Regions from separate parts of the Homo sapiens genome. Here all the other regions are linked to region 1. The links are contacts of gene promoters, found by promoter capture Hi-C in blood cells and fetal thymus (Javierre and others, 2016). All regions are on one chromosome and are shown on one strand. The core of a region is centred on a gene start or on the middle of the fragment in contact, and the rest is flanking DNA. Distances in the headings are between cores, read along the strand shown.

The links. The method cuts DNA at HindIII sites, captures the fragments that hold promoters and counts their contacts. A CHiCAGO score of 5 or more calls a contact.
Region 2: a fragment that was not itself captured here is called in contact with the fragment with the promoter of LDB1 in region 1 in 4 of 17 cell types (naive B cells, megakaryocytes, erythroblasts and 1 more); the score reaches 7.8 in naive B cells.
Region 3: a contact is called between a fragment that was not itself captured here and the fragment with the promoter of LDB1 in region 1, in 13 of 17 cell types (erythroblasts, megakaryocytes, fetal thymus and 10 more). The highest score is 14.8, in erythroblasts.
Region 4: a fragment that was not itself captured here is called in contact with the fragment with the promoter of LDB1 in region 1 in 1 of 17 cell types (total B cells); the score reaches 5.6 in total B cells.

What each region holds. Positions count from the first base shown.
Region 1 is chr10:102,115,008-102,122,546 of GRCh38, reverse strand. LDB1 (LIM domain binding 1) reads left to right here and starts at 2,179. Exons shown (of 11, transcript NM_001113407.3): 1 at 2,179-2,461. The coding sequence starts at 2,437. It also overlaps a transcript of PPRC1 not described here. RefSeq lists enhancers at 40-789, 790-1,541, 1,542-2,293, 3,999-4,700, 4,701-5,403 and silencers at 1,790-1,919, 1,940-2,239, 2,300-2,379, 2,470-2,539, 4,873-5,112 and 1 more. The HindIII fragment of the contact is 3,755 bases long and covers 1-3,511 here.
Region 2 is chr10:101,828,535-101,835,528 of GRCh38, reverse strand. It overlaps KCNIP2 (potassium voltage-gated channel interacting protein 2), which reads left to right. Exons shown (of 10, transcript NM_173191.3): 2 at 4,362-4,457; 3 at 5,632-5,685; 4 at 6,330-6,454; 5 at 6,833-6,902. It overlaps KCNIP2-AS1 (KCNIP2 antisense RNA 1), which reads right to left. Exons shown (of 3, transcript NR_045118.1): 3 at 6,640-6,994. Among named protein-coding and RNA genes, the nearest start is that of KCNIP2, 12 kb to the left of the region's middle. RefSeq lists enhancers at 4,173-4,689, 6,744-6,994 and silencers at 4,825-4,904, 5,695-5,794, 5,915-5,964. The HindIII fragment of the contact is 5,390 bases long and covers 87-5,476 here.
Region 3 is chr10:101,810,262-101,817,426 of GRCh38, reverse strand. It overlaps OGA (O-GlcNAcase), which reads left to right. Exons shown (of 16, transcript NM_012215.5): 2 at 3,821-3,872; 3 at 4,300-4,397; 4 at 7,113-7,165. Among named protein-coding and RNA genes, the nearest start is that of OGA, 4.6 kb to the left of the region's middle. The HindIII fragment of the contact is 4,868 bases long and covers 1-3,772 here.
Region 4 is chr10:101,779,090-101,786,430 of GRCh38, reverse strand. It overlaps NPM3 (nucleophosmin/nucleoplasmin 3), which reads left to right and starts at 2,985. Exons shown (of 6, transcript NM_006993.3): 1 at 2,985-3,158; 2 at 3,507-3,592; 3 at 3,834-3,953; 4 at 4,080-4,173; 5 at 4,577-4,704; 6 at 4,799-5,106. The coding sequence starts at 3,041. The coding sequence ends at 4,695. It overlaps OGA (O-GlcNAcase), which reads left to right. Exons shown (of 16, transcript NM_012215.5): 16 at 1-1,981. It also overlaps a transcript of FGF8 not described here. RefSeq lists enhancers at 3,418-4,057, 4,985-5,279, 5,158-6,008, 6,086-6,215, 5,856-6,753 and 1 more, a silencer at 6,436-6,515 and a promoter at 5,125-7,341. The HindIII fragment of the contact is 1,547 bases long and covers 1,176-2,722 here.

The sequences.
Region 1 (7,539 bases), core at 930-3,429:
CCTCCAAACCATCTCAAATTGTCCTGCCAATCCAGCCCCCTCCTCTCTTGGAATTGGATAATCTTAAAAAAAAAAAAAAAAAAAGGGCAGAAAGAACACGTATTTACAGGACTGCCTGGCTGACACTGGGCTACGTGACTGGGTGTACATTGTCTAGTTTGATACTCACCAAGCCATAGGTTACAGAGGATAAAGCTAGTGTCCCAGGTGGGGTGGTCAGTTGTCTCAAATCACTCAGGTATTGAGGAGCGAATCTTGCGTTCAAACCTAGGTATCCACAATTTCGGGCCAGTGTTCTGTTGCCTTATGTTCTCTCTACTCCCTCTAGTGCTGACCTTTGTCTGGGAGAATGCAGGGAGGGGGTGCACTCAGGCAGGGGATGCTGCCAAGGAAATACTTGTGTGAGTGTGGATGGCTTCAGTCAGGTCCTCTCTGCTCCTGGTGGGGGTGGAGATGGGGAAACCTGGGGGTGGGAGACTCCACAGTGTACAAGCTCCCCTATCCCCCATCCTAAGCACATGGTGGGGAGGGTCTCCATTCCTAGGCAGGCCTTCTTTTCAATCCCTGGACTCTGCACCGTTCCATCATTTCATGCTCCCTCAGCAAAAACCTAAGGTGGAGAGAAGAGGTCTCATAAACACTTTAAGCCTCCGCATTTGTAACCCTCCCCCAGCCAGTCAAGCCAGCTGTGCAGACTCTGAGCCAGAGTGAGGGAACCAAACAGCCTTCTCAACCAACACCCCTCTAAGTAACAAAGAGGAGAACCCCCTACCCAGTCAGGGCCAGACGCCCTAGGGAGGAGACACTAGTCCAAGTCTCCATCGTCTATCCCTGGAGCCCATACTGAAACTTAAGAAAGAAAAGCTAGCAGCTGGGGACCCCAGGAGGGAGGGGGTCAACTCTCTACTCCAGGCGGCTCCCCTCCCTTCCCTCCTCCTGGCTAATAGGTATTTCCTGTTTATGAGGCAGCTAAAGCTGAGCTTTTGGGAAGGGATGGAGATGGAGCCCCTCCCCTCCTAGGGCTGGGTTGGGGAGTCCTTGAAGTGTGACTGAAGGTTGGGAGGCTCCTCCCAGGGGAAGGAGTGTTCCTTACATTGACCATCCACATCATCTCCCATCCAACCCCCCACGGCCCACAGCCTCTGCCTCTCTGGGTTAGGGGGCACTGGAGGGGCCTGTTTCCTGTTCTCATCTCCGAAGCCCTCAAAGGACAGCAGCTTCCAGGCAGGGGGGTCGGAGGCGGTGGGGTTGGGCGGTTGGTACGGAGGTGAAGGCACCAAGGCTGGAGAAAGGGGGGAAGGGAAGAGAGTGTCTTGACTGATGCGTCAGTCTGCAAGAAGGAAGGATGGCCTCCTATCGCCCCTCCGTAATCCAATCTGGTGGTCATTCCGCAGCCCCCTCCCCCCAGCAAAACACAGATCCCAAGCCCTTAGGCGGAGGAGGGCGGGGACCCCACTTAATTAACCCTTTTAGTTCTAGTCCCAACTGGTTTCGCAGGCAAAGGAGGAGTGGTTAATTTAGGGAAGGGGTGAGTTGAGGGGTTGCTACAAGAATTAAGAGAATGCTTCTTTACCCATCCAGCCTAGGGTAGGGACGCGAAACAAGGGGCCTCCAGAAGAAGGCTGGCGTCTCAGCAGGGAGCACGGACAGGGGGTCTGCAGTCCCTTTTCCCTCCCGGAGCGCGGCCCGGGGTGGAGAGAGATACACCACACTGCCCACCCCGGCTCCGCCTCCCCCAGCCGCGGCTCCCGCTCCGGCTCAGCCAGACTCCCCATCCGGCGGCACCCGGAGGACGGACACCGAGCGCGCGGCTGCGCCTCCAAGCCCTCCCCTTCGCCCTCCCTCTCTGGGGTCTCTGCCTCCGTCTCCTTTTTTAAAAGCTGCGTCACATGCATGCCGTTCCCCGAGCGCTCCCAGCCCCTCGCCGCCCGCCCGCCGCGCGGCGCACGCACGTCGTCGCTTGCTGCGCGCTCTCCCGGGTCACTTTGACACGGCTCTCCCCTCCCACTAGCAGGACAATTAGCATATTAATAAAGCCCGGCCCTGCCCGGCTTGGGCTGGGGAGCCGGCGCCGGCGCGAGGGAGCGCGAGCGCGAGGGCGGAGAGGGGGGCGCTCGGCGACGGCGGCGGGAGCGCACAGACACGCACACGCACACGCGCACACACGCACACACGGACACACACTCCGCGGACTCACACCCGCGCGCACACACGCAGAGGCCGCTCGCCTTCCTGCCTGGCTTCCTTCCTGTCTGCTCCGCGCCTGACAGGCCCCTCGCCGCAGCCAGGGGCCGCCCGCACCGGGCCGAGGCCGGGCCGGGCCGGCGGCGAGCGCAGCGGGGGCCGCGGGCGGCGGCGGCGGCTCATGCCCGGCCTGTCCCCGCGAGGGGCGGGCACCGTGACTCGGCTGGGCCCCCAGAGGCGGGCGATGTGAAGATGTCAGTGGGCTGTGCCTGTCCTGGTGAGTGGGGCGTGCGGCCACTCGGCCCCTTCCTGCCCAGCCGTCCCTGCGGACCCCTCACCCCGTGTTTGGCGAGAACTTGTGTGGGGGGCGTCGATGGCATGGGGGAAGCCGGGGGCTGGAAGGGCTACGCGGGGCCTCAGGCTGGCGGGTAGCGTTTTCCCCAACTGTGTAAATGCGCAGCAGCCCAGAAACACGGGGAGGAGACGCTGGGGGTGGCTTATGTGTATGTTTTTTTGGGGGTAGGCTAATTGGGGAGAGGTTTGGGGGGGGCTGAAATTCTCAGAATTCCAGGTTGTTAGCCAATCAGAAGTGACTCTGGACTTTTGACCCCCCCCCTCAGGTCACCATAGAGTTGTGATTGGCTGGTTTGGGCTGCCCCCCCTTCCCTGCTGCCCATTGCCTCTTACCTATCCTGTGACATCCCCCCCATGCTGTTTCTGAGGACCCTGTTTGCAGGGAGGTATTGATTGCGGCCCATCTTGCCCCCCACCTTCAACTTTTCCTGCCTGTTGCCAGGGAAGGTTGGCCCTCCTGAGGCACCGGAGGTACTCCTAAGAGGTGCCAGATAATTGGACCCTTGGGTCTGGCATCTCCGCCCTAGTGGGAGGGCAGGCTAGGAAATAGAGTGATTTGTGGAGAGGTAAGCTGGGGGAGCAATACTTGACCCAAAACTGAGAACTTGAGAGAGGACCCAGGCTCAGATCCCTGCCTCCCCAAAACATATCAGCTCTTGCCAGGGATAGCCTAGGTCTGAGTTTTTTTCCTGGGGGGCAGGTGGGGGGGGCGGAGGGCGTCTACCTCACTGCCAGGAGGAAAGAGAGAAGCCATGCGACTGGAGAGGTAGTCTACAGAGGGCCTCACGGCACACTGTCTGTCTCCATCCCCGGGACTCTGGGTCCTGGAATTGGCCCTCCTGCCCCAGACTGGAGTCAGCTTTCTCCTGGAAGTCAGTGTCCCTGAATGTAGCCCGCTTTGGCTACATACTTCACAGCTGGACACCCACCACTCCCCCACAAATCCCCAAGGGAAGCTGCCAGTGCGGAAGCTTCCTTGAAAATCATGTGACCCAGGCCAAGCTGGGCTGGGCACACACTTCAGGTGCCTGCTGAGGCTGATGTCTAAGGGGCATGGGTCCCAGAAGGAGGAATAAGAGAACCTAACAATCCTAGAATATCCGAGTATGGGAACCACTGGCTCCTGCTGCAGAGGGTTGGGGAGAGGAGAGGGAAGAGCTTGCCAAGCTGGAATCCTGTCTGGCCCCGTCGTCCCTCTTTCTACCAGCTTGGTGTACATGTTTATGTTGTGGATTTTCTCCTTTATAATTGACCCATGCTGGGTACCCCTTTCAGATCCATCATGTTCTTAGCCCACCCCAGGGCCCTGACCCTCCATCAACACACATGAGCAGAGCAGTTAAACTAAGGATCTGAACAAGCTAGAGGGATGAGTCTTAAATTGTGATTCTTAGTTCCTACAAATAGTGGGTAAGCGGGTATGTATGTATGGAGGGGTTGTCAGGCTGGAGGTGGATGGGAGGTTGGCCCTGAAGTTGGGGCAGGGTGCCTGGGTCCAGTGGGAGGAGAGAGAAAATCTCTTCTTCTTAGTCTCTGGGAGCAGCATGGGAACAGGAAGAGGGCCCAAGCCCAGGGGTTTGTGGGTGGGTGGGAAGACAACTTCAGTCAATGCCCCAGAAGGCATGTTCCTTTTGTGTCTGGTGGTCTGACTGAGGGAGAGAGGGCAAAAGATAGGGAAGAGTGGGGAGTCTTTTTCCAGATCATGAAGAAGTCTTATAGATTGATGCCAAAGAGGGTGGATGGAGGTTAGACTTCAAGGAGAACCACATGGGGAGGGCTTCAGAGTAGACTGGAGGTGGGGAATAGTAGCAGTTGAGGTTAGAGAGGGGACCTGGCTTGCAGCTTGCTTGGATGGGGGAGCACATGCTTGAACACAAGGAAGGCATGGCAGCATGTAGCAGTCCAGGCCCAAAGATTTCCCCCACCTTGAGCAGCCCTGGGGTGAGGGCTGAGGCGCCCTGGCAGGCCGCCTGCCGCCTGCCTGCCTGCCTGTCTGAGTCTCTCCTTTGTGTTCTGCTGTCTCCGGGCTCCTCCTCCTCCCCCAGCCCGGCAGAGACAGCACATGCCCCACACATGTGACTGAGGGAAGCCAGAGCGCACACAGACCCACACACATGCACACGCAGAAGCACCACAAGATACACACATACACATGCCCAACACCCATATTGCTCCTGGGGTGAGGACCAGCTTCTGGGGCTGGAATGGCTGGGAGCAGGGAGAGCCTCTGACTAAGGGGCATCACCCTGAGCAAGAGGCTGAGGGGGCCAGGGCCTGTCTGGGGCAGCATGTGGCTCAGAAGGGTTAAGGCAGGGAGGAGTAGGGGGAGGGGAGGAGGCAGCAGTGGTGGCGGCTGGGAGCCAGGAGAGGAGGATGGCAGAGCGCCAGGCCAACGGGAGGCCGGGCACAGACAAAGGAAGGGGGGCAGGCACACTGGAGGCCTGGGTCAGGGAGCCCCAGGGGCCCGGGCAGGGGGCAGTGCTGGTACCTCATCCTGTGGGCTGGGGCTGGCTGCTGTCCTTTGAGTCCCCACCTCCAGGAGGAGTACTTTCCCTCATCATCTTTGTCATTATTTGCTGCTCCCTCCACCTCACCACCAATTCTAAGGCCTTCTAACTCAGACTTGCTCTTTTTAGCTGGACCTGTTCTGCCCCTGTGCAACTGGGTAAATCTGGTCAGAGCAGAGAAAGGAGCAGACTTGCTAGAGAATAACTAGAAGGCCTGTTTTGAATGGTTTGCCAGTCGATACATCTTGGCATTTAGGGGCCCCTCCACCCCACAGCGAGACTGGAGGGCCCTTGTAGTCCCTCCTGTCTGAGGAGACAGGGTGGGTGTGGGGTTCTGAGCTCTGGGCTGGAGGCAAAAGCCAGAGCACATTTCCCCCTCCCCATGAGGACAGTGATTTGAGGCCTGGAGGGGGAAGGGAGTAGGAATGGCTGCAGGGCTTGGCTTGTATCTGGTGGGTTTAGAAGTGCAGGGTTCAACCCCCCCACCCCCCAGCCCACCCTGGTCATCCTGTCTCAGTGGGTTCTGTTAGGATCTCACTGTTAGGATATTTGGCCCTATGTGCTATGAGGATCTCTTGAGGTACTGCCTGTGAATGCACTTTGGAAAGTTTAAAGGCAGTGGGGGAGAAGTGGGACTACCCCAGAGTTAAGCTGTAAATTTGGGAGTCAGTGGGAGTGTCTTAAGTCCTGGTGATAGGCTGTATGTTGCAGGGTCTGGCTGAATGTTATAGATTTCAGTATGTTTGTGAAAGCTGGGGTTTATTCTATGGCCAGGCTGTGATGAGGAATGGTACGCAGGCTTCAGAGAGGGTGATTTATAGGTTAAGTCCTTGCATAATAAATGATCGGGGTGTGTATGTGATAGGCTGTCACAGGTTTAGGGGTTATAACACAGTTTTGGTGTGTGTATTGAGGTCAGGATGCGTGTCATAGGTCCCAGTGTGTATGACTTAGACTGTGTGTGTGTGTATATATCCAGGATTTGGGTATATTTAGGATTTGAGATATATCACAGGTTGATGGCCAGACGCGGTGGCTCACATCTGTAATACTAGCACTTTGGGAGGCCAAGGTGGGTGGATCACCTGAGGTCAGGCGTTCGAGACCAGCCTGGCCAACATAGTGAAACCTGTCTCTACTAAAAATACAAAAATTAGCTGGGTGTGGTGGCATGCACCTGTAATCTCAGCTACTCAGGAGGCTGAGGCAGGAGAATCGCTTGAACCCAGGAGCTGGAGGTTGCAGTGAGCCGAGATCGCGCCACTGCACTCCAGCCTAAGCAACAGAGCGAGACTCCGTCTTGGAAAAAAGATATATCACAGGTTGAAATGTGTATCAGGTAGTGATTTATGTGAAAGTGAGATGTGTTATTTATGTGGAAGATGTTCACAGAGCCAGGTGCAATATTACTGCACAGTTAACTAGTGAGTATGTCATAAGAAATCCTGTCCTTGGAGTTATGTGTGAATATAGTTGGGGGTAGGAGACAGGAAGTAGAGAAACAGACACTCAAATTGCAAAGAAGGAAATAGAAGGTTCGTGCTCCCCCTTCCCGTGTGTGTGTGTGTGTTTGTGTGTGTGTGTGTGTACTATGTATTTTCCTTTTCCTATTTGTCCACGAGTAAGGTCTGGCCCACTACCCAAGTTTTAGAAATATTCCCTCCTGCTACAACAAAATTACCTTAGGAAAAAAAATAGAAATATCTGCTCCCTTGGGATGCCCTGCTGGATGGGAGAACAGGTCCTATCCACTAACCACACGTTTTTTTTTCTGGGGTGGTGGGGAGGATTCAGCAGCAAACTAAGCTCCTTCTGGGGACCCTTGGATGGCCAAGTTGGCTTTCCCTAGCTCTGACAATGCCTCTTTCCCTGGCACCCACTTGTCTTCAGTGGTGGTGGGGAAGGGGGCTTCCTGTTAAGGGGGATCTAAGTCAAGGCTTGGAATTTAGCTGGGTTGGGGGCAGGGAAGCCTGGAGTGTCCCCCTTCCTCCAATCAGTGTTTACAGTCTGATGTCAGAATGTGTGTCTGTCAAAAATAACCCCCTGGAGCCTCTCCCCCCAGCTGCTCCAGGATTTCACCAGGGGAGCCCAGGCTGGCAGTCCGGGCCAGCCTTCAACCTGAGCGATCACAGGGGCGAGAAAGATTTGGGGGAGGTTTGGGAGGTGCTTTGAAGATCTTGGAGTCTGCAGAGAGGAGCCCGCCCTCCTCCATCTCTGCCAGTGGCTTTGGCCCACCTGCTCACTCCTGAGCACCGTGCCTGGGGCTCGGGGGAGGCGGGCTGCATTTCGTTCCTGGCCCCCACAGGCCTCTCCTCCATCCAGGTCTCTCCTGGCCCAATCTGATCCGTCCCCTGTCTCTCCCAGTCTCTGTCTCTCTTTTGTTTTTCTCAGCAGTCCCTCCGTCCCAGCCTCCCTCCCTCCCTTGCTCTTCCTCTTTCCTCTCAGGGAGGGGGCGGGGCCGGTGGGGGCAGCTCCACCCTCCGCCCGCCCTGGG
Region 2 (6,994 bases), core at 1,532-4,031, 290 kb after region 1:
GGAGCAGGCAGGGCTTTAGCATCTCCCGGATGAGGTCCCAGCCACATACGGAGCCAGCACAGTCCCCCCTCCTCTCCCAAGAAGCTTGGGTTTCTTGACCCCAAAGGCAGCTGCAGTAAGTCCCCTCCCCAGAGGGTCCTGATGGGGTTAAGTGGCCTTTTTCTGCCTAGGCTACTACTGTATCTTATCCCCCCTCCCTTGGGCCTCAGTTTCACTGCCTGTGGCCTGTGGGAAGAGAGTGCTTCCCTCCTCACAGTCTCCATGGCAACCAAATCGATATTGGTGATATCCTCCTAGCAGGAGAGGTCACTGCCTTCTCCGCCATTATTCTCATACAATTCCATGCCAATACAATGACAAAACAGTAGACCCACCCTCCAAATTATACAACACATCCATACCTAACAAACTTCAGACCCACATCCTACAACCCTACTAAAACACAGGAACCTCACTCCCCATGCACACTCACAAATACTTCAACACACTCCTACACATGCAGACCATAGACACCCAGCTCACATACCCATATACGCAAGAGTCAAAATGCATAACCATACGCCAAACACACACCTCTGTGACAGGTGCACAGTCACGTGTAAGCACACAAAGACACACATAAGAGGAGACATATGCACTGCCATACTGACAAACACAGGAATATACACACAGGAAAACACCTGGCCACCACAACATATTCTGACCCATGCATCTGATTACTTATACATGTGCAGATGGTGGTTTCTCATGCACATACACCCTGCCCTTCCCTGCCTTCTCCCTAAGCTCAGCTCCTCCCTCTGCCCCTTCCCTTTGGCACAGAGTAGCCACAGGATGTCTAGGGGAAGCACTTCTCAGGGACAGAGGCGGGTCACTGCTCCCTCCCTCTGGCCCATATCTTGGCCAAAAGTTCCCAAGGAGGTGCCAGTCCAAAGGCTGAGGTGGCCCTGCGAAGAGGAAGAGGCGGCGGCTGTGGTTGGGAGGCTTGTGGGGCAGAGGCGGGGTGATGGGGGAGAGGAAGGAGATCCTGGGAGGGAGAGTGGGAGGGAGGCTGCAGGCAGTCCTACTCAGGCTGGGGAGTCTGAGGGGGAGGTGGTGTGAGGCGGTGAACCGGCGTATCTGAACCTGGGCCCTGTAGGGGCCATGCCCCAGGCCCACCATGAACCTGGAAGGGCTGGAGATGGTTGCTGTGCTCGTGGTCCTCGCTCTGTTTGTCAAGGTCCTGGAGCAGTTTGGCCTCTTTGAGCCTGTCTCCTTGGAAGGTAATCCAGGTGTCCTGGCATGTCTGAGCTGCTGGCTGGTGGGGCAGCTGCCCCACAGCACTAGGGAGGGTGTTTGTCTGTCTTCATGACTGGGGCAGGGATGAGCAGGTGAGTGATGGCACAGGGATCTGGGAGGTGAGTAGGGGTGCTTGGGGGATACAACATCTGGGAGGGGTGAAGAGGAGGCCTCAAGGAGTAGATATGGAGGGAGGAGGGAATCTGGGGGACCAAGGTGTCAGGAGGTGATGAGGGGTGCAGTGTGGGAGGACTGGGGTGTGGAGATGAGGAGGTGAGGGGATTCTGGGCGATACCAGGAGGGGTCTGGAGATAGGGAAGGAGTGTCTAGAGTAGAGGAGGGAGGTTCTAGGGATCCTGAGATAACAACGGATTTCTGGGGGGTCCTTTTTGGAGTCAGGGGCCCACCACGGTGCCTGTGCATCCTCTCCACACCTCCATCTGTGCAGTGTAGCTTATGGGGTGTGTGGGCATAGTGTGTGAGAGACACAGGGTGTGACTTTGTGTTCCTGTATGTGAGAGAGTACAAAGTGTGTAACTGTGAGCCTGTGTATGGGACAGGGATATGACTGTATGTGTGAGAGTGACAGGGCATGTGGCTTTGTGAGAAGGTGGATGTGGCCAGGCCTGAGTGGCACAGTATGTGGCTGAGCCTCTGGGTATCAGGTTGTGCATGTGGCTGTTTCCAGAATTTCCTGAGGATATACCAGCTCCATACCCAAGGCTTGGGAGGAGGTGGGTTCTGGAGGGAAGAGTGTGAACATTGTGAAGGAGACATTTATAGCCCAGCTATGATTGGGGATGAGGAGTGGATCAGATCAGGGACCCTGCTTCCCAAGTCCCCTTGCCTCTCCAAGCTCCTATCAGGATCCAAGTGCAGAGTGATCTCCAGGGCCTAGACATTGGGAGTGGAAAATCAACTCCCCTCCCCAGCCCACCCCAAAGTCAGTAGGGAGAGTAATATTGGGGTGGAGTGGGGAGCACTTCTGCCTCCCCCTTGGGAGTTTTGACCTCTCCCTCCTCTTCACGGCTAGAACTGTGTAACTCCGTAGCATGGCTGTTCCCCAGTACCACCAGGGACAGGAAGACAGACTAGAACCATGATGGAGGACTGCAGGGTAGATACCTGGAAGAACTGGAAAAATATGAAGGAAACTGGGAACAAGAGGAAGGTGCATGAATTGCCTGCTCTAGGGTTCAGTAAGAGCAGAAAACTCCTAGCTCACCCTCCATCCTCTGCTGCATTTATTGGGGTGGAGTGGGGAACAGGGAGTTGGACCTAGATAAACTGGGACAGCTGGGCTGAGCTTGTTCTCATTCAATCTGGAAAAGGTGAAGTTGATTGAGCTCTAACTTGCCATTCCTTTTAGATGGGAAAGGGGGAAGAGAGGGCATCTGGAAATCCCAGGAGTCTTGGGCTGAAGGCAGCCATTCTGTTCTCACCTTTAGAGGAGACAGAGGCTTAGAAGCAGGTAGGGGGCTGGGGTGGGGGGCAGGAGAGCCACCCCCGAGTCGGGCAACTACACCATTGGAGGCCCCAGGCGCAATCCAGCTTTGGGAAACTAGAGTCCAGGCTAATGGAGCCCTGGGCCAGAGGCCAGGAATGCCATCGATCCCCCTGCCTGGCCCACTGCCTCCCTCCCACCTCTCCATGGCTCCTGGGGTGGGAGGGAGGTAAGGATGTGTTGAAGGAGAGGAGGTGGTTACTCACCCAGTCACCTCCTGAGAACAGGGCCTGATCTGGAGGGTGAAGCCTGGATTGGGAGGGTGGGGTATATGGAGGGGGAGTAACCTTTAACTAAAGGAAGTTGGACCCCTCCAGGAATGGACTGAGGCCAACTTTAGTCACTGTGTCAGATCCAGTGGGATCTGATCCAGGAATCTGGATGCAGTGCAGCTGGGAGACACAGACACACACACACACACACACACACACACACACACACACACACACAGTAACACTGAGGGTCCTCTGGGGGTGCAATTAGAGCTGTAGAGCATGTGCAGAAATAAGGGAGAAGAGGGGAAGGGGAGCCATGATCAGTGGGCCATGGATAGCCCCACAATACACCAGAATACTCGCCTCCAAGATCTCTTATTGCCACAAAGTTTACTATTATTTCACCCTCAAAGAGCAAGCCATACTGGAAGAGACTGTGAAGGGGCCACAGTTTAGGGTAGATGAGTTAGCTGATGAGGAACCCTGCCCTTTGGCAGAAAGATTCTGGGCACCTTGGAATGAGGAGGGGTTACAGGAAAGAAAAGTGGGTGTACCCAGGAAAAATGAAGCCTCTGTGGGTGAGGTATTGAGGTACAGCCTTAGATATCTGGGTGCCATGGGGACCCAGGTCACAGTATGATATGGATATGTGTCATGACAACCTTGATATGTCTCATAATGTTATAAGGTCACAATGTCATAGTGTTCTTTGTAGACTCACATGTCATGATGTCCCAGAGGCATTGTGTGTTCTTGTGTGGTTTGATCATGCTGTGTGTGAGATGGCCTATATGGGTCTCCATGTGTATGCATCCTGTTTTACTTAGGTCACATTTGTATATGTTTGTGTTAAGGAGTTAGCAGGTCATTGTGTGTGTGTGTGTGAGCATGCATATTACGCCATCAGGTGTGAGTTACTGGATATCAAGCTGTCACTGGCACCCATCACTGTGATGTATTGTTCTACATGTCACTATACACGCCTGTCACTGTAGGTGTGTGTATGAGAGAGGTGTTCTTACCCAGGCAATCCTTGGGTTGGACATCATCCTGAGAGGTCCAGCCATGGCACTTGAGCCAAGGGTACTAGGTCAGCAAAGACACTGAGGCCACTGCCACCTCATCCTTGCCGCCTCGCTGTCACCGGCCACGTCCCATTAAACCAAGTGCCTGAGCCTCACCTCTATGGACTCACTGGGCTCCCCTAACCCGATTCCAACCACCCTTGCCATTCCTTTCCTCCCCTTAATTCCTCCCCCAGCCCGGTCCCCAGATGGGGTTGATTTGTGACTGGCGGGGAGGGGACAGGGAACAGAGGGACAATGGGAGTTAATGTGCCTTCCTGGGGTCTTCTCTCTTCCCAGGCCACCCTCCAGGGCCCACTAAAAAAGCGCTGAAGCAGCGATTCCTCAAGCTGCTGCCGTGCTGCGGGCCCCAAGCCCTGCCCTCAGTCAGTGAAAGCAAGTGCCTCTCATGTGCTTCCGGGGGCGGGGCTCGATGTGTGCGTGCGTGTCTGTGCATGAGTGTGTGCGCGTGTGCCCCAGGCCTGCGAGTGTGCGCATGCTCCAGGCCTGCATGTGTGGGGGGGCGTGCCCCAGGCCTGCGTGTGTGGGGGTGGGGCCTGCCCCAGGCCTGTGCGTGTGTATGTGTGTGCATGTGCGCGCGAGCGTGCCCCAGGCCGGCGTGTGTGTGTGGGGGGGCGTGCCCTACCCCTGCATGTGTGTGGAGGGCGTGCCCCAGGCCCGCGCGCGTGTGTGTGTGTATGGGGAGGCGTGCCGCACGCCTGCGTGTGGGGGAGGGGCGTGCCCCAGGCCTGCGTGCGTGTGTGTGTGTGTGTGTGTGTGTGTGTGGGCGTGACCAGCGTGGCGAGGGCGGGTGCTGGCAAGGCTGGAGCATAAGGGGGCGTGGCTACTGTGTGCGTGTGCGGCTGAAGCCAGCGTGTGTGGGCGTGGTCAGTTGGGAGCGGGTGTGTGTCACCGCTCCCGCAAAACTGTGGGACCCGAGAGTGTGGGTGTGACCATTGTGACCAGGCTGAGGCCTGAGCCTGTGTAGCTGTGGCGGCCTGTGTAGACCAGGCGGCCGTGAGGGTCTGTATGTGGCTTAGCTGGGTTAGTGTCTTCAACTCCGTGCGGCCGCCCCCTTCCCCACCGTGTTTTGGACCCCTGATGTGTGTTGCCTATGCCCCGACAGGATGGTGACAGGTGTAGAGGATGGCGCCTGCCCTCCTCCAGACGCCAGGGTATTTGGGTTTTCTGTGCCAGCCTGGTCCCCTGCTGAGTGATCTCCAGTTGAGTGACCTCGCTTTGTCTCTAGGTCTCCATTTCCTCAGTTGGGCCTTGCCCACCTCATAGGATCATACTGCATTTTGCAAACCATAAAGGCCCGCTTTGTAGTTATTTGAGCATGCTGTTGTGTTGGACTTAGATGGGTCCCACACGGGGGTGGATTCGGAAAAGGACAGGCGTGAGTCCCGCAAGCTTGTGTGCATGGGGTCCGTTTCGTGTGTGTCTGTGCTGGTTGGGTGTGCCTTTGCACGGGCTGGGTTGTGAGGTTTGCTCTGAGTGTGAGGGGCCAGGTGTGTGTCTGCAGTTGGCCGGGTCTTCCGCTTTCTCGGTGACAGTTCGCTCCCTTCAGCATTAGCCGCCCCAGCCTCCCTCCGCCCCCACAGACCCCGCCTGCTGGACCCAGGTGACTTACGCTCCTGGTGGGGGCGGGGCGGGGCAGGGCGGCTTTGCCATCTTGGGGTGGGGGGCACTTGCCTGGGGGCTGGACGTTGGGGGCGGGGCAGGATTGAGATGGGGCCGGGGGTGGGGTCTGGATGGAGGTTGGCTGAGCTGGGCGGGGCATGGCTCAGGCATGGCTGGGATAGATGGGGCTGGGCGGGGCGAGGGGAGGGGCTGGGTGGGACGAGGGGAGGGTTTGGGCGGGGCAAGGCTGGGGCTGGGCGGATCTGAGTTGGTCCCCGAAGGCCCGGAGCTCTGACCCTCAGACGCCCCCTCTTGAACTGGCTTTTCCCACTCCTCCCTTTCTAAAACGAAGATGCGGCTGGGGGCCTTCCCCTCCAACGAGGGATCGAGGGCCGCGGGGCGAGCACTGAGTCGGATCCCTGGCTCTGGGGCCAGGCCAGGCCTTGGCCCGCTGATAGACCTCGAAGATGGCCATCATCTTTTCTCCTTACCTCAGTGTCCTTGGCTCGGGGCCCAGGGAACTGGCAGCCTGGTCTCCGGCATCGGATGGGACCGGGGGGCGGGGAGGGGGTGAATGGGGCAGTGATTTGAAGAGGGGTCGCGGAGGCTGGGCCTGAGGCGCGGCTGTCCTCACCGCTCCCGCAGACAGCGTGGACGATGAATTTGAATTGTCCACCGTGTGTCACCGGCCTGAGGGTCTGGAGCAGCTGCAGGAGCAAACCAAATTCACGCGCAAGGAGTTGCAGGTCCTGTACCGGGGCTTCAAGAACGTGAGTGCAAGGCGAGGCCAAACTCAGCGAGGGTGGGACAGGAGGACCCAAGCCGGTCCACAGCTTCCCAGAAAGCATGGCTTGGATGCTTGAGGTGTGGGCGGAAGGGAGGCAAGGCCCTGAGACTGAACTTCTAGCTGGAGGTTCTGGGGCGGGGCCAGAACGGAAGTGGCGCCTGTAGACTGTCAGTTTCGTTCCATGTTTTTTATTTGTGCACTGGGAAAGAAGTCTTCCCTCCCATCACATGAGCCACGTGGTGAGTCCTCTGGAGGCTTGAAGATTATCCCCCTCCCTGGGAGTCTTGGGCCATGGAGGGTGGGGGCGGTGAACGGAAGGGGATTTTGTCTCTGCCCTCAGCCTGGTGCCCTCTCCTTCCAGGAATGTCCCAGCGGAATTGTCAATGAGGAGAACTTCAAGCAGATTTACTCCCAGTTCTTTCCTCAAGGAGGTGAGGGGACAAGGCCCAAGGGGAAGCAGTTGTCCTTCTCTAGGCTGAGGGAGGGAGGGATTCTGGAGGAGCTGGGAATGCCAAGGTGATGG
Region 3 (7,165 bases), core at 89-2,588, 300 kb after region 1:
CCCACACTGACGTGCTTGTACTTCTGGAGTGAAGAGAAGCACGTTTGGCCTATAGTATTTCAAGTTCCACTTGGCTTAGAATATTTTTGTTGCTTCCCCCCACCCCCGCAAAGATTCATTTGCAACTTAGAAAATTGCCCTCTTTCCCAGCTACTGTACTTTGCTCTCGAGGGATGAAACTTTGGCTTTAATCACAGATTCTCGAAGTATCTGAGATGCGTAATTGGAATTTAGTGACCGCAGAAGCGGCTTTAAAAATGCCCTTCTCGCCTTTTTTCCCATTTACAGTCGAAAAGAACGATGGACTTTTTGGTAGTGAGGGAAAATTACCAGATGCTTGTTTCAGTTTCTGGATGAGAATGGACAGATAGTCCACCTTGCAGCTCTGTAGAGGCACGAATCGGTTACATTATTAGTCTTTCCGCAGTTACAGCATGTATTTGAATTTTCTGAAGTATTTTGGCCGATTCAGAGTTTCCTAGATGTCTGTTTTATATCTCTCTCGTATGTAATGGCGTGGATAAGGGTAAAAAATATATATATTTAAAAAACCAAAAAGGTATGGAAAAAGGATTGCTCTCGACGTTGAGAACATCAGCTTTTCTGTTTTTTTTCACCATATAAATTAGAGTATTCTTTCGAAAAATGGGTGGTGGTTATGGTACAGACCATAACAGGCTACTTTGCTGCTACAGTAAGGCATGAAAGAGTTCAGCGAAGTTAACTGTCTTGCAGAATTTGGGGGATTACAGAATGGAAAACTGCTATATAGTATTCATCAAAAATGATTGCATTGTGTGACTTATATCGTTGTATTTATTGGCTTGAGTGCAGGGAGATTTTAGAAAAAGAATCTGGTTTTTGTTATCAAAGATCTTGGAGTGGGGATGAGAGAGTGCTGGGAAATTTCGGAGCTAGACTGGAATGAGTCTAAGGAAACTTGCCAGTCCATTATACCTTCAGTTATAAAAGGAGAAAACTCATTTGGTTTAAATTCGTTTGTTTAGAATAGCATTAAAAGGCGATTCTTCCTATTTAAAGAACAGAGTTGTCTGCCATTCTCTCGTTTATTCCTCCTCCCTCCCGTGCCCTTGTATATTTTCTTAGTGACTGAGCACCTGAGCCAGCACTGATTTTTTGTGTGTTTTGTTGTTTTTGTTTTGGGAGACGGAGTCTCGCTCTGTCGCCCAGGCTGGAGTGCAGTGGCGTGATCGCGGCTCACTGCAACCTCCGCCTCCCGGGTTCGAGCAATTCTCCTCCCTCACCCTCCCAAGTAGCTGGGACTGCAGACACGGGCCCGGCTAATTTTTTGTATTTTAGTAGAAACGGGTTTCACCGTGTTGCCCAGGCAGGTTTCCACCTACGGAGCTCAGGCAGTCCGCCCGCCTCGGTCTTCCAAAGTGCTAAGATTACAGGCGTGAACTACCGCGCCTGGCTTTTTTTTTTTTTTTTTTTTTTTTTTTCTCTCTTTTTGATACCTCTTGGTTGGCACCAGCCGTAAAATGAATGAGCATAGAAATACTATAGTTACTGCTAGGATTTCTTTTTTGTTTTCTTTCCATCACAAAACTCTCTTGGTTTTTAACTTACATTAACAGCATTGCTTCCTCTTTGTGGTGCCAGTCAACCGAAACCATGAACCTGACTCTCAAAAGAGCCAAGGTAGGGTTTCTAAAGATTAAAATGTTTAATTAAGCTAGACATTTGAAAAGTCTTTTTTTATATTGGAGCAACTCTGAAAGGATGTTTAATGCCTACTCCTTAAAAAAAAAATGATAATGCTAAGTGCCGTAGGGATGCTAAAGACTTGTATAGGTCTGCCTGATCAAGAATATTTTATATTGGCCGGGCGCGGTGGCTCACGCCTGTAATCCCAGCACTTTGGGAGGCCGAGGCGGGCGGATCACGAGGTCAGGAGATCGATACTAGCCTGGCCAACATGGCGAAACCCTGTCTCTACTAAAAATAGAAAAAATTAGCCGGGCGTGGTGGCGGGCTCCTGTAATCCCAACTACTCGGGAGGCTGAGACAGGAGAATCGCTTGAACCCGGGAGTTGGAGGCGTAGATTGCATTGAGCCGAGATAGTGCCACTGCACTCCAGCCTGGGCGACAGAGTGAGATTCCGCCTGAGAAAAAAAAAAAAGAATATTTTGTATCACTTGTGAGAGGCTAACATTAGATTGTCCAGATGAAAGTGCTACAGTTATACATTGGTATGTAATGAATTTTAATTTGGTCTGTCATTGTCCTTTTTGTGGTGCAGAGGAGTCATTCTGCCTAGAGATTGGAGCTAAAATACATTGCAGAAATTTGTTTTAGACTAGTCTCTTATGTAGATTGTGTGGGTTTATGTAGAACATTTTGTGTTCAGAATGCTTTTATTAACCTTCTTCATGGTACTCTTGAGAGGCTGTCCTTATCTCTTACTGATGATTAGACTGAGACAAGTGGAAAGTAAAGGTTAGACAAGATGTAAAGTGTGTGGTTTGAGCTGTGATGAGCACACTAGGGAGTTCCAGATACCAGTTTGATGCTTATTCAACCATTTAGGTTATCGGTCTGCGAGTTTGTTTTCTGCAGTGTGTGCATAACTAGTGTTTTGTCCTCTTAGAGGATACTCTGGGGACATTCTTGAGTTTTCTTTGTTTATTCCTTTCCGTTTAAGGACCAGAAGTAATATTCTTGAATTTTCATTTGTTCAGATCTTTGCTCTGTAATTAAGATTGCGTGAGAGTTTGTTGTTTGGGCCAGTTAGGCTGTTGAATTTCTTGGGAATGTGGTTTCAGGCATTTTTTGGTCCCTTTGATTATATCATTGTATGTGGAACTTTTTTTGAGAGAGAGAGTTTTGCTCTGTCACCTAGGCTGGAATGCAATGGCGCGGATCTTGGCTCACCGCAGCCTCCGCCTCCTGGATTCAAGCAGTTCTCCTGCCCTAGCCTCCCAAGTAACTGGAATTCCAGTCCTGGCCAGGAACTTTTTTTAAAAAAGAGGAGCACGATCATAAAATTAAGTCAGATTCTTTCCTAATCCTATCTCTGATTTGTTTTTAATTGCTTTACCTGTTTATCTCCCCTCACCCTTTTGTTGTTGTTGTTTGAGATGGAGTCTTGCTCTGTAGCCCAGGCTGTAGTGCAGTGACGCAGTCTCGGCTCACTGCAAGTCCGTCTCCCAGGTTCAAGTGATTGTTGTTTCTCAGCCTCCCAAATAGCTGGGATTACAGGCATTTGCCACCATACCTGGCTAATTTTTGTATTTTTAGTAGAGACATGGTTTCACCATGTTGGCCAGGCTGGGTCTGGAACTCCTGACCTCAAGTGATCTACCTGCCTCAGCCTCCCAAAGTGCTGGGATTACAGGCGTGGGTCACCTCACCCGGCCTCCCCTCACCCTTTCTAAAGCAGTTTTACTATCATTCTAGGAAGTAATTGTTACTGTTGGCAGCTTGTATTACATTGCTGCCGTTCCCCATTATAAGATTGAGATCTCTTAAAAAATTGGAATTAAATATATTTGGACTTTATCAACAGTGGAAAGATGATAGATGTTTGTTTTAAAATAACTATCACCTAAGTAACTAATGTCATGGTAGAAAAAATAAAAAAAATTACCTAAGCAAAAATGGAATAAAAGTCACCTTGTAACGTCACCACCCAAAGATTAAAGGAACCTTAGTATTTTATTAAATATCCTTCCGATTTGGTGTATTTTATGCTTTTTACAAAATAGGATTGTATTATATGTTTTGTAACTTGCTTTTCTCAATAAAGCTTACCACATTTTAAAACTGAATATAATTTCATTCTTACTTTGAATCTAGGATTTTATGGAAGACCTTGGGTTATGGAACAGAGAAAAGAACTCTTTAGAAGGTAAATCTTCATTATATGAAGGAGAGAGGAGAACCTTAAACTCTTAACATTTTCTTTTGTTTGAAGAAATACTAACAGTGAATAGCCCAGGTGCATTTTGATGGTTTCTCAATTGCAGAAGTTATTTTACCTTGGTCCCTTTTTTCTTCACCTAGGCCTTTGATTTTCAAACTTTTCCTGGGGAGCTGAATAAGTTTTGGGCTTCACCTTACCCAGAGCTGTTGTGTTTTTTAAGAGTGTTTTGTATGTTGGCATACATTGTAATACTTAATTTTTTTAAATTCCACTGATTACAAAAAGGTTAAAAGCTACTGTCATAGAATATTAGCTTTGTATGAGATGGAGATGCTCCAAGAAGAGGGAAATGGAGATTGACAGCCTATGAATGTTGCCTGTTTATACATATGTAATTTTCTTTCTCCTTAAGGCTCCAGAAATGGGAATTAAATACATACTTGTATGCCCCAAAAGATGACTACAAACATAGGATGTTTTGGCGAGAGATGTATTCAGTGGAGGAAGCTGGTAATCTTTTTCTTTTTATCCATAAATTCAAAATCTGTGAAGAAAACGGTTATATTTTAAATGTAGTTGTACAAGAATTTTATGACATTTTATTTTTATTTTGTAGGTAGTTTCCTTTTCTTCTATCTGGTAACTATTCAGTTAGCTGAGATTGAAAGAGTGCTCTGCGCTAGCAAGGTCATGACCATATGTGTGATATCATGGGCGTGCTAGGCTGACTCCATCTGTTCTGTGGTCATAGATTGTGCTGCTTACTTCTGCCAGTGGATTAAACAGTGGGCCACTGGGCAAAGAAGTGCTGGAGCTGGGCTAGGCCCAGGGCAAGGCAAGTGAGGCACGTACCTTGGGTGCAAATTTTAAGGGACCCCCAAAAAGTAATCAACATAAATAATATTTTATGCAATTTTTTTAAAAAACCAAAATTAATGCAGAAATTCATGATGTACACAATGCTAAAATTTTAGGTAAAGACAGGATCAGCACTACTGATTGTTCCTTTTGCTTCAGGCTCTAGTATGGCTTGGCCTTGTCAGCAGTTACTGGTCCTTAAACCCTAGTCCAGGAAAGTGGGAAGCCATTAATAGGCTGTCTTTGGGTTTTGTTTTGTTTTGTTTTGTTTTTTGAGACAGAGTCTTGCTCTGTCCCCCAGGCTGGAGTGCAGTGGTGCGATCTCGGCTAACTGCAAACCTCGCCCTCCCGAGTTCAAGAGATTCTGCTGCCTCAGCCTCCCAAAGTGCTGGGATTACAGGCTTGAGCTCCTGTGCCCGGCCGGCCTGCTATGGGTATACTTAACGTTGAGTTGGTTACATAAAATTGATAAAAAGTAGTATAGCATTGAACCGCCAAATTAGAGAGGTGCTTTTCTTTGGGAACTTGTAAATGGTGAAACATTTTTGTACTTGAAATTAAATGGTATACGCATATAGCTAACAAGATATTTGGTTACAGAGCCCAGCCAAGGCACAGAAGGCTGAAAGTTTTCTTGAATTACAAAGAAGCAATTACAGCTTACCCCATCTCCATCTAGTGTTGTGGTTTACTACTCTATTTAAGTGTGCCTTCAACTTAATTACTTTCTGGTGGTGCTGGTAATGAAACTTAATGTGATCAATAATCAAAATAGAGTAAAAATGACTATCTTGAGATACTACTGAAAATTATTCAAAAATATGTCTTATAGTATATACTAGTAGTAGTTAAGTTGATTTAGGAAAATTGTCAATTGATAATTTTAAAAGGTTAAAATCTATAATTAATGTTTTTCCCATAGATAGAAACAGGTCAAGATTGTTAAGGCCATGACTTAACTCTGGTTCTTTTTCTTTTTCTTTTTTTGGAGACAGCGTTTGTCACTTTGTTACCCAGGCTGGAGTGCAGTGACTCACTGCAATTTTGATCTCCCCGGCTCAAGCAATCCTCCCGCCTCAGTCCCCCAAGTAGCTGGGACTACAAGCGCGGGTCACCACACCCAGCTAATTTTTGTATATTTTGTAGAGAGAGGGGTTTGCCATGTTGCCTGTGCTGGTCTCAAACTCCTGAACTCAAGCAGTCAACTTGCCGTGGCCTCTCAAAGTGCTGGGATTACAGGTGTGATTCATTTTTTTTTTTTTTTTTTTTTTTTTTCATTTTTTTTCATTTTTTGAGATGGAGTCTTGCTGTGTCGTCCAGACTGGGGTGCAGTGGTGCGATCTTGGCTCACTGCAACCTCTGCCTCCAGGGTTCAAGCAATTCTCCTGCCTCAGCCTCCCTAGTAGTTGGGATTACAAGTATGCGCCACCACGCCTGGCTAATTTTTGTATTTTTAGTAGAGATGGGGTTTCACAATGTTGACCAGGCTGGTCTCAAACTCCTGACCTCAGGCAGTCCTCCTGCCTGGCCTCCCAAAGTCCTGGGGTTACAGGCATGAGCCATTGGGCCTGGCCTACCCTGATTCTTAAGAAAGCATTTTCTTTCTTTCATATTATAAAGTAGTTATGTGTAGGTTTATTTAGTTAGGAATTCCAGCTGTTCAGAGATGGCAAAACAAAAAAAAAAAGCAAGATCCAGTACCATGGCTCATGCCTGCAATCCCAACACTGTAAGAGGCTAAGGCAGGCGGATCACTTGAGGCCAGGAGTTCGAGACCAGCCTGGGCAATATGGCAAAACCCTCATCTCTACTAAACAAAAATTAGCCGGGTATGCCTGTAATCCCACCTACTCAGGAGGTGGAGGTTGCAGTGAGTCAGGATCGTGCCACTGCACTCCAGCCTTGGGCAACAGAGCAAGGCTCTCAAAATAAAAAAGCAGCGGCTGCATTTTATGCCTTTCAAATGCTGCAGGAAATAGAAATGGCTTAAGTTCAGTAAGAGAATTGACAATTCAGTGTTTTTGAGAAGTGGCAATGAAAGGGAGGAAAATGTTTATTGATTTTAGCCTGTTTCCCCAAAAGGATAAGAAACTATTTGGAAGTGAAAAAGAAGGGCCTCTTATTTTCTGTTGGTTCAGATTTCAAAGGTGTGAAAACTATTCTTTTTCCCTTACTGTGACATTAAATCACTTCAGGCTTGTACCATTTTGTATGGCCTGTTGTTAAGTTGGACATGACAATTTGTAAAATGTGAGGATCTTTTCCTTTCTTGTAAGTTAGAAGAAATAACCTCTTCAGTTAAACCTTCAGTGAAGGTTCTTTTAGTTTTCTGTTCTGCTTTCTAAAAACATAGACTCTGTTCTTTAGAGCAACTTATGACTCTCATCTCTGCTGCACGAGAATATGAGATAGAGTTCATC
Region 4 (7,341 bases), core at 700-3,199, 340 kb after region 1:
TGTCCAAAAGTCTCTTAACTGCACCTTGTGAATGGTAGTTGAGGTCTTCATACAGTTCAGCCTCTAGAATGGTAACAAATCAGCCAATTGGATTCGAAACAAAGAAGACTATGTAAAACTCACCCATCACACTTTGAGACTACTCACTGGTTGGAAGAATATAGTATTGCAGCAAATCCTGTATGAAAGAGAGATGTGGGCTTCCTTTTTGAGTCTTGTGTTAGGTGCTGAGACCTTTTACATGGGCTTATACAGGGAGAGAGTCTTCAATAAATGTAGTCAGCACTATTTTCTGCATCCAGTGTGGTTGCGTTTCTCACCTGAGAGTAATCAAGATAACATCTGTCATCTTCCTTGGTTTATTGAGTGAAATGCCTCTCAGTCTTAGGGGACATGGCAGAGATGAAAGAAAGAAAGAGTGGGTTTCAGAAGTGTCAGGGTGGAGTGATTCCAAGTGGGATGGTTGTGGCATTAGTTTAAGCTGAATAAATAATTTCAATTTGGGGCAGTTATTCTGCTTTTTGTAAAGCCGTGGCCAATTGTCTCCTGTAATGACTGTTGGTTCAGGCATGTTGTACTTTGTAGGGACAAATGTGCATTTGTTTGTGGCAAAAGCCTACAATTGACAAACTTGTAAATTTCTTTGTATATAAACTAGCTGTAACCTGACTATCCTTTGTGTTTACTGTTTTTGTAAATTTTTTTCCTCTATAAATGAAAGGGTGTTGGTTCAGAATGGCACTTTGAATAATGTAAACCAGTGAAAAGTGGATTTTCTTTACTTTTGTCTTTGGGTTTGGGGTTGTTTTTGTTCTTTTTGAAGTTTTATTATTTTTAAAGTGCCTCCCACCTAGGCGTAGGCCATGACCATTTGGGGTACGAGAGCCTAATTTTGTAGGACTTAATCTGTTGAAAAGTGCAGTTACTTCTGGAAATTAACCTCAATATTAGGTCAGCATGTGAAATGTTGGATTTGACATGTCAGGTAGGGTTCAGGGACTGATTGGTCCCATTTGCCCTCAGGTCAGTTGTTTAATCTCAAGACCTGTTACTACTGATTTTATTAAATCAGAGTCTTTAATTCTTGCATGTTTGTATCTAATTTCTGAATGAATGAGCACACTTTAACCAGTTATTTACAGTTACCTTTTTCCTTTAACCGGATTGTGAAAGCTTCATGTATTTTAATTTAGATTCTGTGTTTTTAAGGGTTCTGAGCATGAAGCTGGCAGATAGTCGGCAGGACTCATTTTTTCATCATGGCTGGCTGATTTCTCCATAGATTGATAACAGTATTTTGTTATCTTGCTTCTCTGTAGTTTTGCATCAGCTGTTTAACTTTGAGCTGAGTGAGGGGAGAGGGGTAAAGAGAAAGAAACTTAAGTTTTCTTTCACAGAACTCCACCATTGTGGGCTTTGAGAGAGCCCTAAAGCATTGTACCTAGTGGTACCTAGTGACTTCCAACCAAAGCCTTTGAGTATGCACTAAATAGGTGAGAAGAAAGGAGAGAAGGTTTTTAGGTTAGAAACCTTTAACCGATAGAAGGATATGGTATGTTGTAAAGCTGGAACCAAGTTTGCATTTTTGAGGGCTTGAGATGAAGGGAAGACTCTTACCAGATAGTAAGACAGCTGAGTTTTCCTCAGTTTTCTCGTCTTAACACTAGTGGACAATTCTAGCATTTTGTTTGGAGGATTTCAGAGTTAACCTCATGGAATTCAGGATTTTTTAGCAAGTTTGCTTTTGGTTTTATCTTGGCTTTTAGTAATCATGTTGGCTGGTCTGGTCACAGGTGACTGTGAAACAGATGCCCTGGTCTTGCTTTCATCACTCTAGGATCATGAAGTGCTATGCTATTTCCTGGTTATGAATATTAAGGTTGGAATTACATTTTTATTGATTGTTTGGATCAGAGCTCAGTTCCTGTAGAAAACGAACTGTAAAAGACCATGCAAGAGGCAAAATAAAACTTGAAGTGAATGCTTGTCGTGTTGTATTGTGTGAATCTATTTCCTGTCTGCCCCCTCCCTTTTCTCCTCTTTCATGCCTCACCTACAAGCAGGTATTCTCTCCTCTCCACAGCTGTTCCAAGTTAGAGATTGGATCTTGAAGGCAGCCCTCCCCTACCTCCATCACCAGTAAGACTTCCAGATTTTCATTAAGACAAGAGCTAAGAAAAGTAGACTAGTTTTTAGCCAAGCCACCCCACCCTCTTGCCACAGTTATAACCTGGATGTGAAATAGGGCCTCTAGTTTGAGTTTTGCCATCTATTAGGATAGAAAGCACACAGTTTGCCTGATTCTTAAAAGGCGAAAGATGGCGCGAGTAGCATAAACTGACAAAATAATCCACGGCGCAAAGATACTCCTGGATGATTTGGAATTAAAAGCTCAAAAAGCGTGGGTGGGCCAGGAACAGCCAACACACATGAGCTAACTAGTCCTCTGCTAGCAAGTGCCAGCAGCTAAGTCTCAGTGAAGGCATAGCAAGTTGCGGGGTCTTTAGAGCAGGAAGAATTAAGAGAGGCTTAGCCGAGAGGACAGACAGGACAGACGTGTTGGGATGGAAATTCCTAAGGCTCCTCGGCTCTCTTGAGGCAAAGACAATCTGAGTGCATTTCCTTTGCTTGTAGCAGAAAAGCACTGCCCTGAACCCCACCTTTGCTGGGAGGAGTAAGAAGGGTTTACATTTTTATATCTATAACTCCTTTAACGAAAGCTTACCCTGGGTTGGAAGAGTGGGAGACACTCTTCCGACACAGAGCGAGGAGCTTGGGGAAGTGGACACCCTCATGGTCGTGGAAATGAGCAAGGATGTTAACATAAACCCCAAATCCATTCTTCTGTGATGTTACTTCCTTTCTCTTCGGTCTTGATAAAATATGAGCAGAAGCTGCGGGCTCCGGGTAGGGCTGCGGGGTCTCGGCGCCTTTTCTTTTCCAGGACTGTGCGTCTCCTTTAATGGGCGGGGCCGGAACTGGCCGAGGGTCCCCGGCTTTGTGCGTGTCGGGGGCGGAGTTTGAAGAAGGCTCTTACAGCATGGCCGCCGGTACTGCAGCTGCCTTAGCGTTTTTGAGTCAGGAGAGCCGAACGCGGGCCGGGGGTGTCGGGGGCCTACGGGTCCCGGCCCCGGTCACTATGGACAGTTTTTTCTTCGGTATTAGTGAAGGGAGAGGCTGAGGGTGGTACTGGGGCGGTAAGAGGTAGGGATGTGAGGCGGGAATGCGGAGGGTTTCAAGGCGTGGGTGTGGGCGGAGGGCTGCTTCGCTGTTCCCGCAGGAGAGGGGGCCTCGCACGCACAGCCAAAGGGGGTGGCGAGATCCCTGCCCCAGATGTGTTGGGCGGGGCCCACGGCAGAGCGTCCCAGGTGTTCTGAGAGAAGAGACGGAGGTGGACGTGTAAATGACCCGTCCGCCCAAGGTTACACGTGACGGCGGGTTGGTGACATCCCCCGCTGCCCAGCCCCGTACACACGCTCAGGCATACTCACTGTTATTTCTACCAGGCTGTGAGCTCTCCGGCCACACCCGCTCCTTCACCTTTAAGGTAGAGGAAGAGGATGATGCGGAGCACGTGCTGGCACTAACCATGGTGAGGGGCAGGGGAGTGGGGTTTTAATGAATAAGCCCAGGCAGGCAATATAGGTCTCTACCCAACCTCCGGATCCCCTTTACTTGGAGACACATCCTCAGCCTAACCCCCCGGCATGGGCGGCTCCCCTGGCCAGGTGAACCGGGACCTCTGAGGCTGGGCAGGTGCTAGGGTAGATGCCTTTAGTTGTGGTGTCAACCCTCACTTGAGGAGACCCTGAGGCCCTGTGTACCGTTCCCAGCTCTGCCTCACCGAGGGAGCCAAAGACGAGTGTAATGTGGTAGAAGTTGTGGCCCGGAACCATGACCATCAGGAGATCGCAGTCCCTGTGGCCAACCTCAAGCTGTCCTGCCAACCCATGGTGAGTTCCCCAGCTCTGCCTTGGTGGTGGTGGTGGTGGTGGTGAGGGGATTGAGGACGTTAGCACTCATTACAGTGTGGGGTGGGCTAGGAGTGGGCCAGGCCTTCATCCTTGTCTTCCTCCCAGCTCAGTCTGGATGACTTCCAGCTCCAACCACCTGTAACCTTCCGCCTGAAGTCGGGCTCTGGCCCTGTGCGGATCACTGGGCGGCACCAGATTGGTGAGAAGAGGGGAGGGCCCTCTCCTTTGCTTCCAGTGGACTCTCCCATCAGGCTTCCCCCACTCCGCACTCCTGCCCCATCCCACCCTCATCTCCCAGTGCAGCCCTGTACAGGTCTGTGTGCCCTCCACGCTGTGCCCTGTGCATGACATGCCCTCTCCTTTCCGTCTACTCAAGCCTACCTCCTCCATGGAACATGGCCCAACTTCTCCAGCTCCAATAATGAAGACTCCTTTGGCTCTTTGTGACCCAGTTTAGGGTCTGAGGTTCTTCCCACCTAGCCCATAAGCACTGGGAGGTCATGGTCCCTGTAAGCCTAACACCACGGCGTGAAGAAATGGCATGCGGTGTGAAACGGTCTGGTCTTAACACCCCATCCTTCTACTGCTTGTGTGTCCACCAGTTACGATGAGCAATGATGTTTCTGAGGAGGAGAGCGAGGAAGAGGAAGAGGACAGTGATGAGGAAGAAGTTGAGCTGTGCCCCATCCTTCCTGCCAAAAAGCAGGGGGGCAGGCCCTAGCCCTCCTAGGTGAGTTGCGGGGAGAAGTGCCTAGCAGGCTCTGGGAAGGGGCAGGAGAAGCAGGTGAGGGCCTAAATGCTGATTCCTTGTTTCCTCTTTTCAGGTCAGCTCCATGTGCCATGCACCGCCATGCACCCTGTTCCCTGACAAGTTTCAACAATTGTAAATATTTCTTCCTTGAAGAGGAGAGCTTGGGTGGGGGTTGGGTGGGAGGGACTTGGGTCTTTGGTGCTAGGAGAGGGCCTGTGCTCCACACAGCCGTGGTTTTCTGATTTTCACCATGCCCGGGGCCTCCCTTCCCACCTGCCTGTGAGAATTGGAGGTTAGTGCCTGAAGCTCAGAGCTACACATTTTTAATAGTTTTTACATTTTTGGATAAAGGTTGAAATAAAGTGGTGTGGAGTTTTTGCAGCTCTTGTGTGGCTTCTTCCTGTGCTGGGTGATGTTTCCCTAGGGACCGCCAGGTGGCACTGTGGAAGCACCCAGCGTGGCCCTGGGCCTGGGGGAGGGTGGAGAACTGTGGGATCCTCTACCCTCATGGCCCTGGGCTAGGACCTGGGGCCTGGGCCCCAGTTGCCTTGCTGGAAGGGGACCTCCCAACACTCAGCCCATTCCCAGTCTCTGCAGGTGGGAGAGGGTCATCGCAGGAGGTTATCAGCATCCAAACAAGGGGTCTGGGCCTCTGTCAGCACTCGGCTGATGGGCAGGGGGGCAGATAAGCGAGCTTAGGCAGCCTGAGGAATGCGCGTCCCTAGCCCCACGAGGGTCTCTGGCCCAGAGAGGGCCTGTGAGGGCAGGGCGGGACCAGGCTTCGCTCCTCCTTTGAGCCTTGCAGGCTGTCTCTGAGCAGGGCTGGGCCCTTAGAGAAACCTGACTCCGGGGGCCAGATGGAGGGGACTGGCCAGATTGGGTGACAGGGAAACCAGAATCCGGGTGGCCTGGCATATGGGGGCAGAAAGGGGCCCCAGGGAATTTGCCTCCTGGACTAAGGGATTCTTGTCCCCCACACACCGTGGGGTCTGGGGGTCTTTGGTGCCTGGAATCAGGTAGTTCTGGCACTTGGCTGCCTTTGTGCCAGGAAGAACTGACACACCTGGTTTGAGGATGAGTGTATGTGACCAGCTCTGGGGTCAGCAGTTCAGCAGCTGTGTTGGTTGTGGGGGGAGGGTTGTCAATGCCCACAAACAAACAAACAAACAAAACATTGCCTCCCCAGACAACCTGGGGCCAGACAGGCTGAGGATAGACAGAGAACAGGGCCTGATGGGGGTCAGGCCAACTCCCACTCCCAGCCTCTAGTCAAGGGGGAGGGGCCCCGGGATATCGCGGGCTGGTGGTTCTGGGGCAGGTGAGGTCAGCTTTGAAGACCTTGCGTCCGCAGTACCGACCCGCACGCTCTTCAGCGCATCCCTAGTGAAGGAGGTTCTCCCCCAGCCCGTGGTGAGGAACTAGGGGTCCAGTTTCCAACCTCCCTCTTCCTCAAGTTGAGGACAAAGGGAGATGACGCCCGTCTGTGTTGCGGTGATCTGGGTCGCAGGCGCCTTTCTCCGATCCAGGAGGGCGCTGCTAAAAATGCTTCCCTGGGGAGCCCGGCGGAGGGGCGGCCTGGCTGGGAACCATGGGTCTCGCTGCGGAGCGCGGTCGGCAGGGAGAGGGAAGTCGGGGCTGGCGCCCTCTGGCGGGCGAGGTTGAAGCCGCTCGTGGTCGTACCGCTTCCCTGGCCTCTAGAGGCTCCGGGCGGGCGCCGTGGGGCCGGGGCCTCCGAGTCCCGCCACTGCTCTGGGCGGCCGAATCTTGGGCGGAAGGCGGGGGAATGCCACTGAGGCTTGCATGCATGCGTGCATACGTTCATTCATTCATTCGAACGACTTGAGTTGGAGTGGGGAAGTCTGGCTGTGGCCCTCACTCCTCTTTCCCTTCCTCTTCTTGGCCCCAGCCTCCAAAGTCCTCGGCACGTGCTTGGCAGGAGGAGCGGGAGACTGGCTGAGTCCTCTCTCCTGGGAGGCCTCCCTAGCTGACCCATCTACCCCCTGCGCGGCTCCGCCCCAATATTTACCCCACCCACCCCCCGCGATGCCACTGATCGCTCCTTGCATTTCTCGCCGGTTTTCCGGGTAGGTCTCCCGGTGGGCGCGGGCCTGCGCCGAGCACGCTCCTGCCCGCAGTGGGGGCCCAATCCACATCAGCCTCTCGGCCCAAGAGTTTCTCGGCCGGTTGGGGCGCCCCGCGGACACAGCTGGGCAAGGTTTATTCCTCTCTCCTCGCCCCAGCCTCTCCTCGAGCCCTCTTCTTTGCCCTTCAGCGCACAGTAGGAGCGCTGCCGGCTCACTGTGGCCTCAGACCCCTGGGGGATGAAGGCATACGCCGGGGTTTGCCGACTGCTGGAGGAAGGGCAGGCTTCTATTTGGGGGCCGAGGGAGACGACTCCCAGACAGTGGCCGAAGTGCTTAACGTAGTCTCGGCGATTTGCATTTGAACGGTCGGCAGTGAGTCCGCGGCGCTTTGAACGCCCGGCGCAGGAAGCGCGCGTCGGAGCGAGCTGCGGTCTCCGGCGGGTGTGGATTGGAGGGGCCGGGGGATGGGCTGGGATCGAGGGGTGCGTTTGGAAATAGGCTGAAGTAGTGTGTCTGGGTGCAGGCGAGGGCG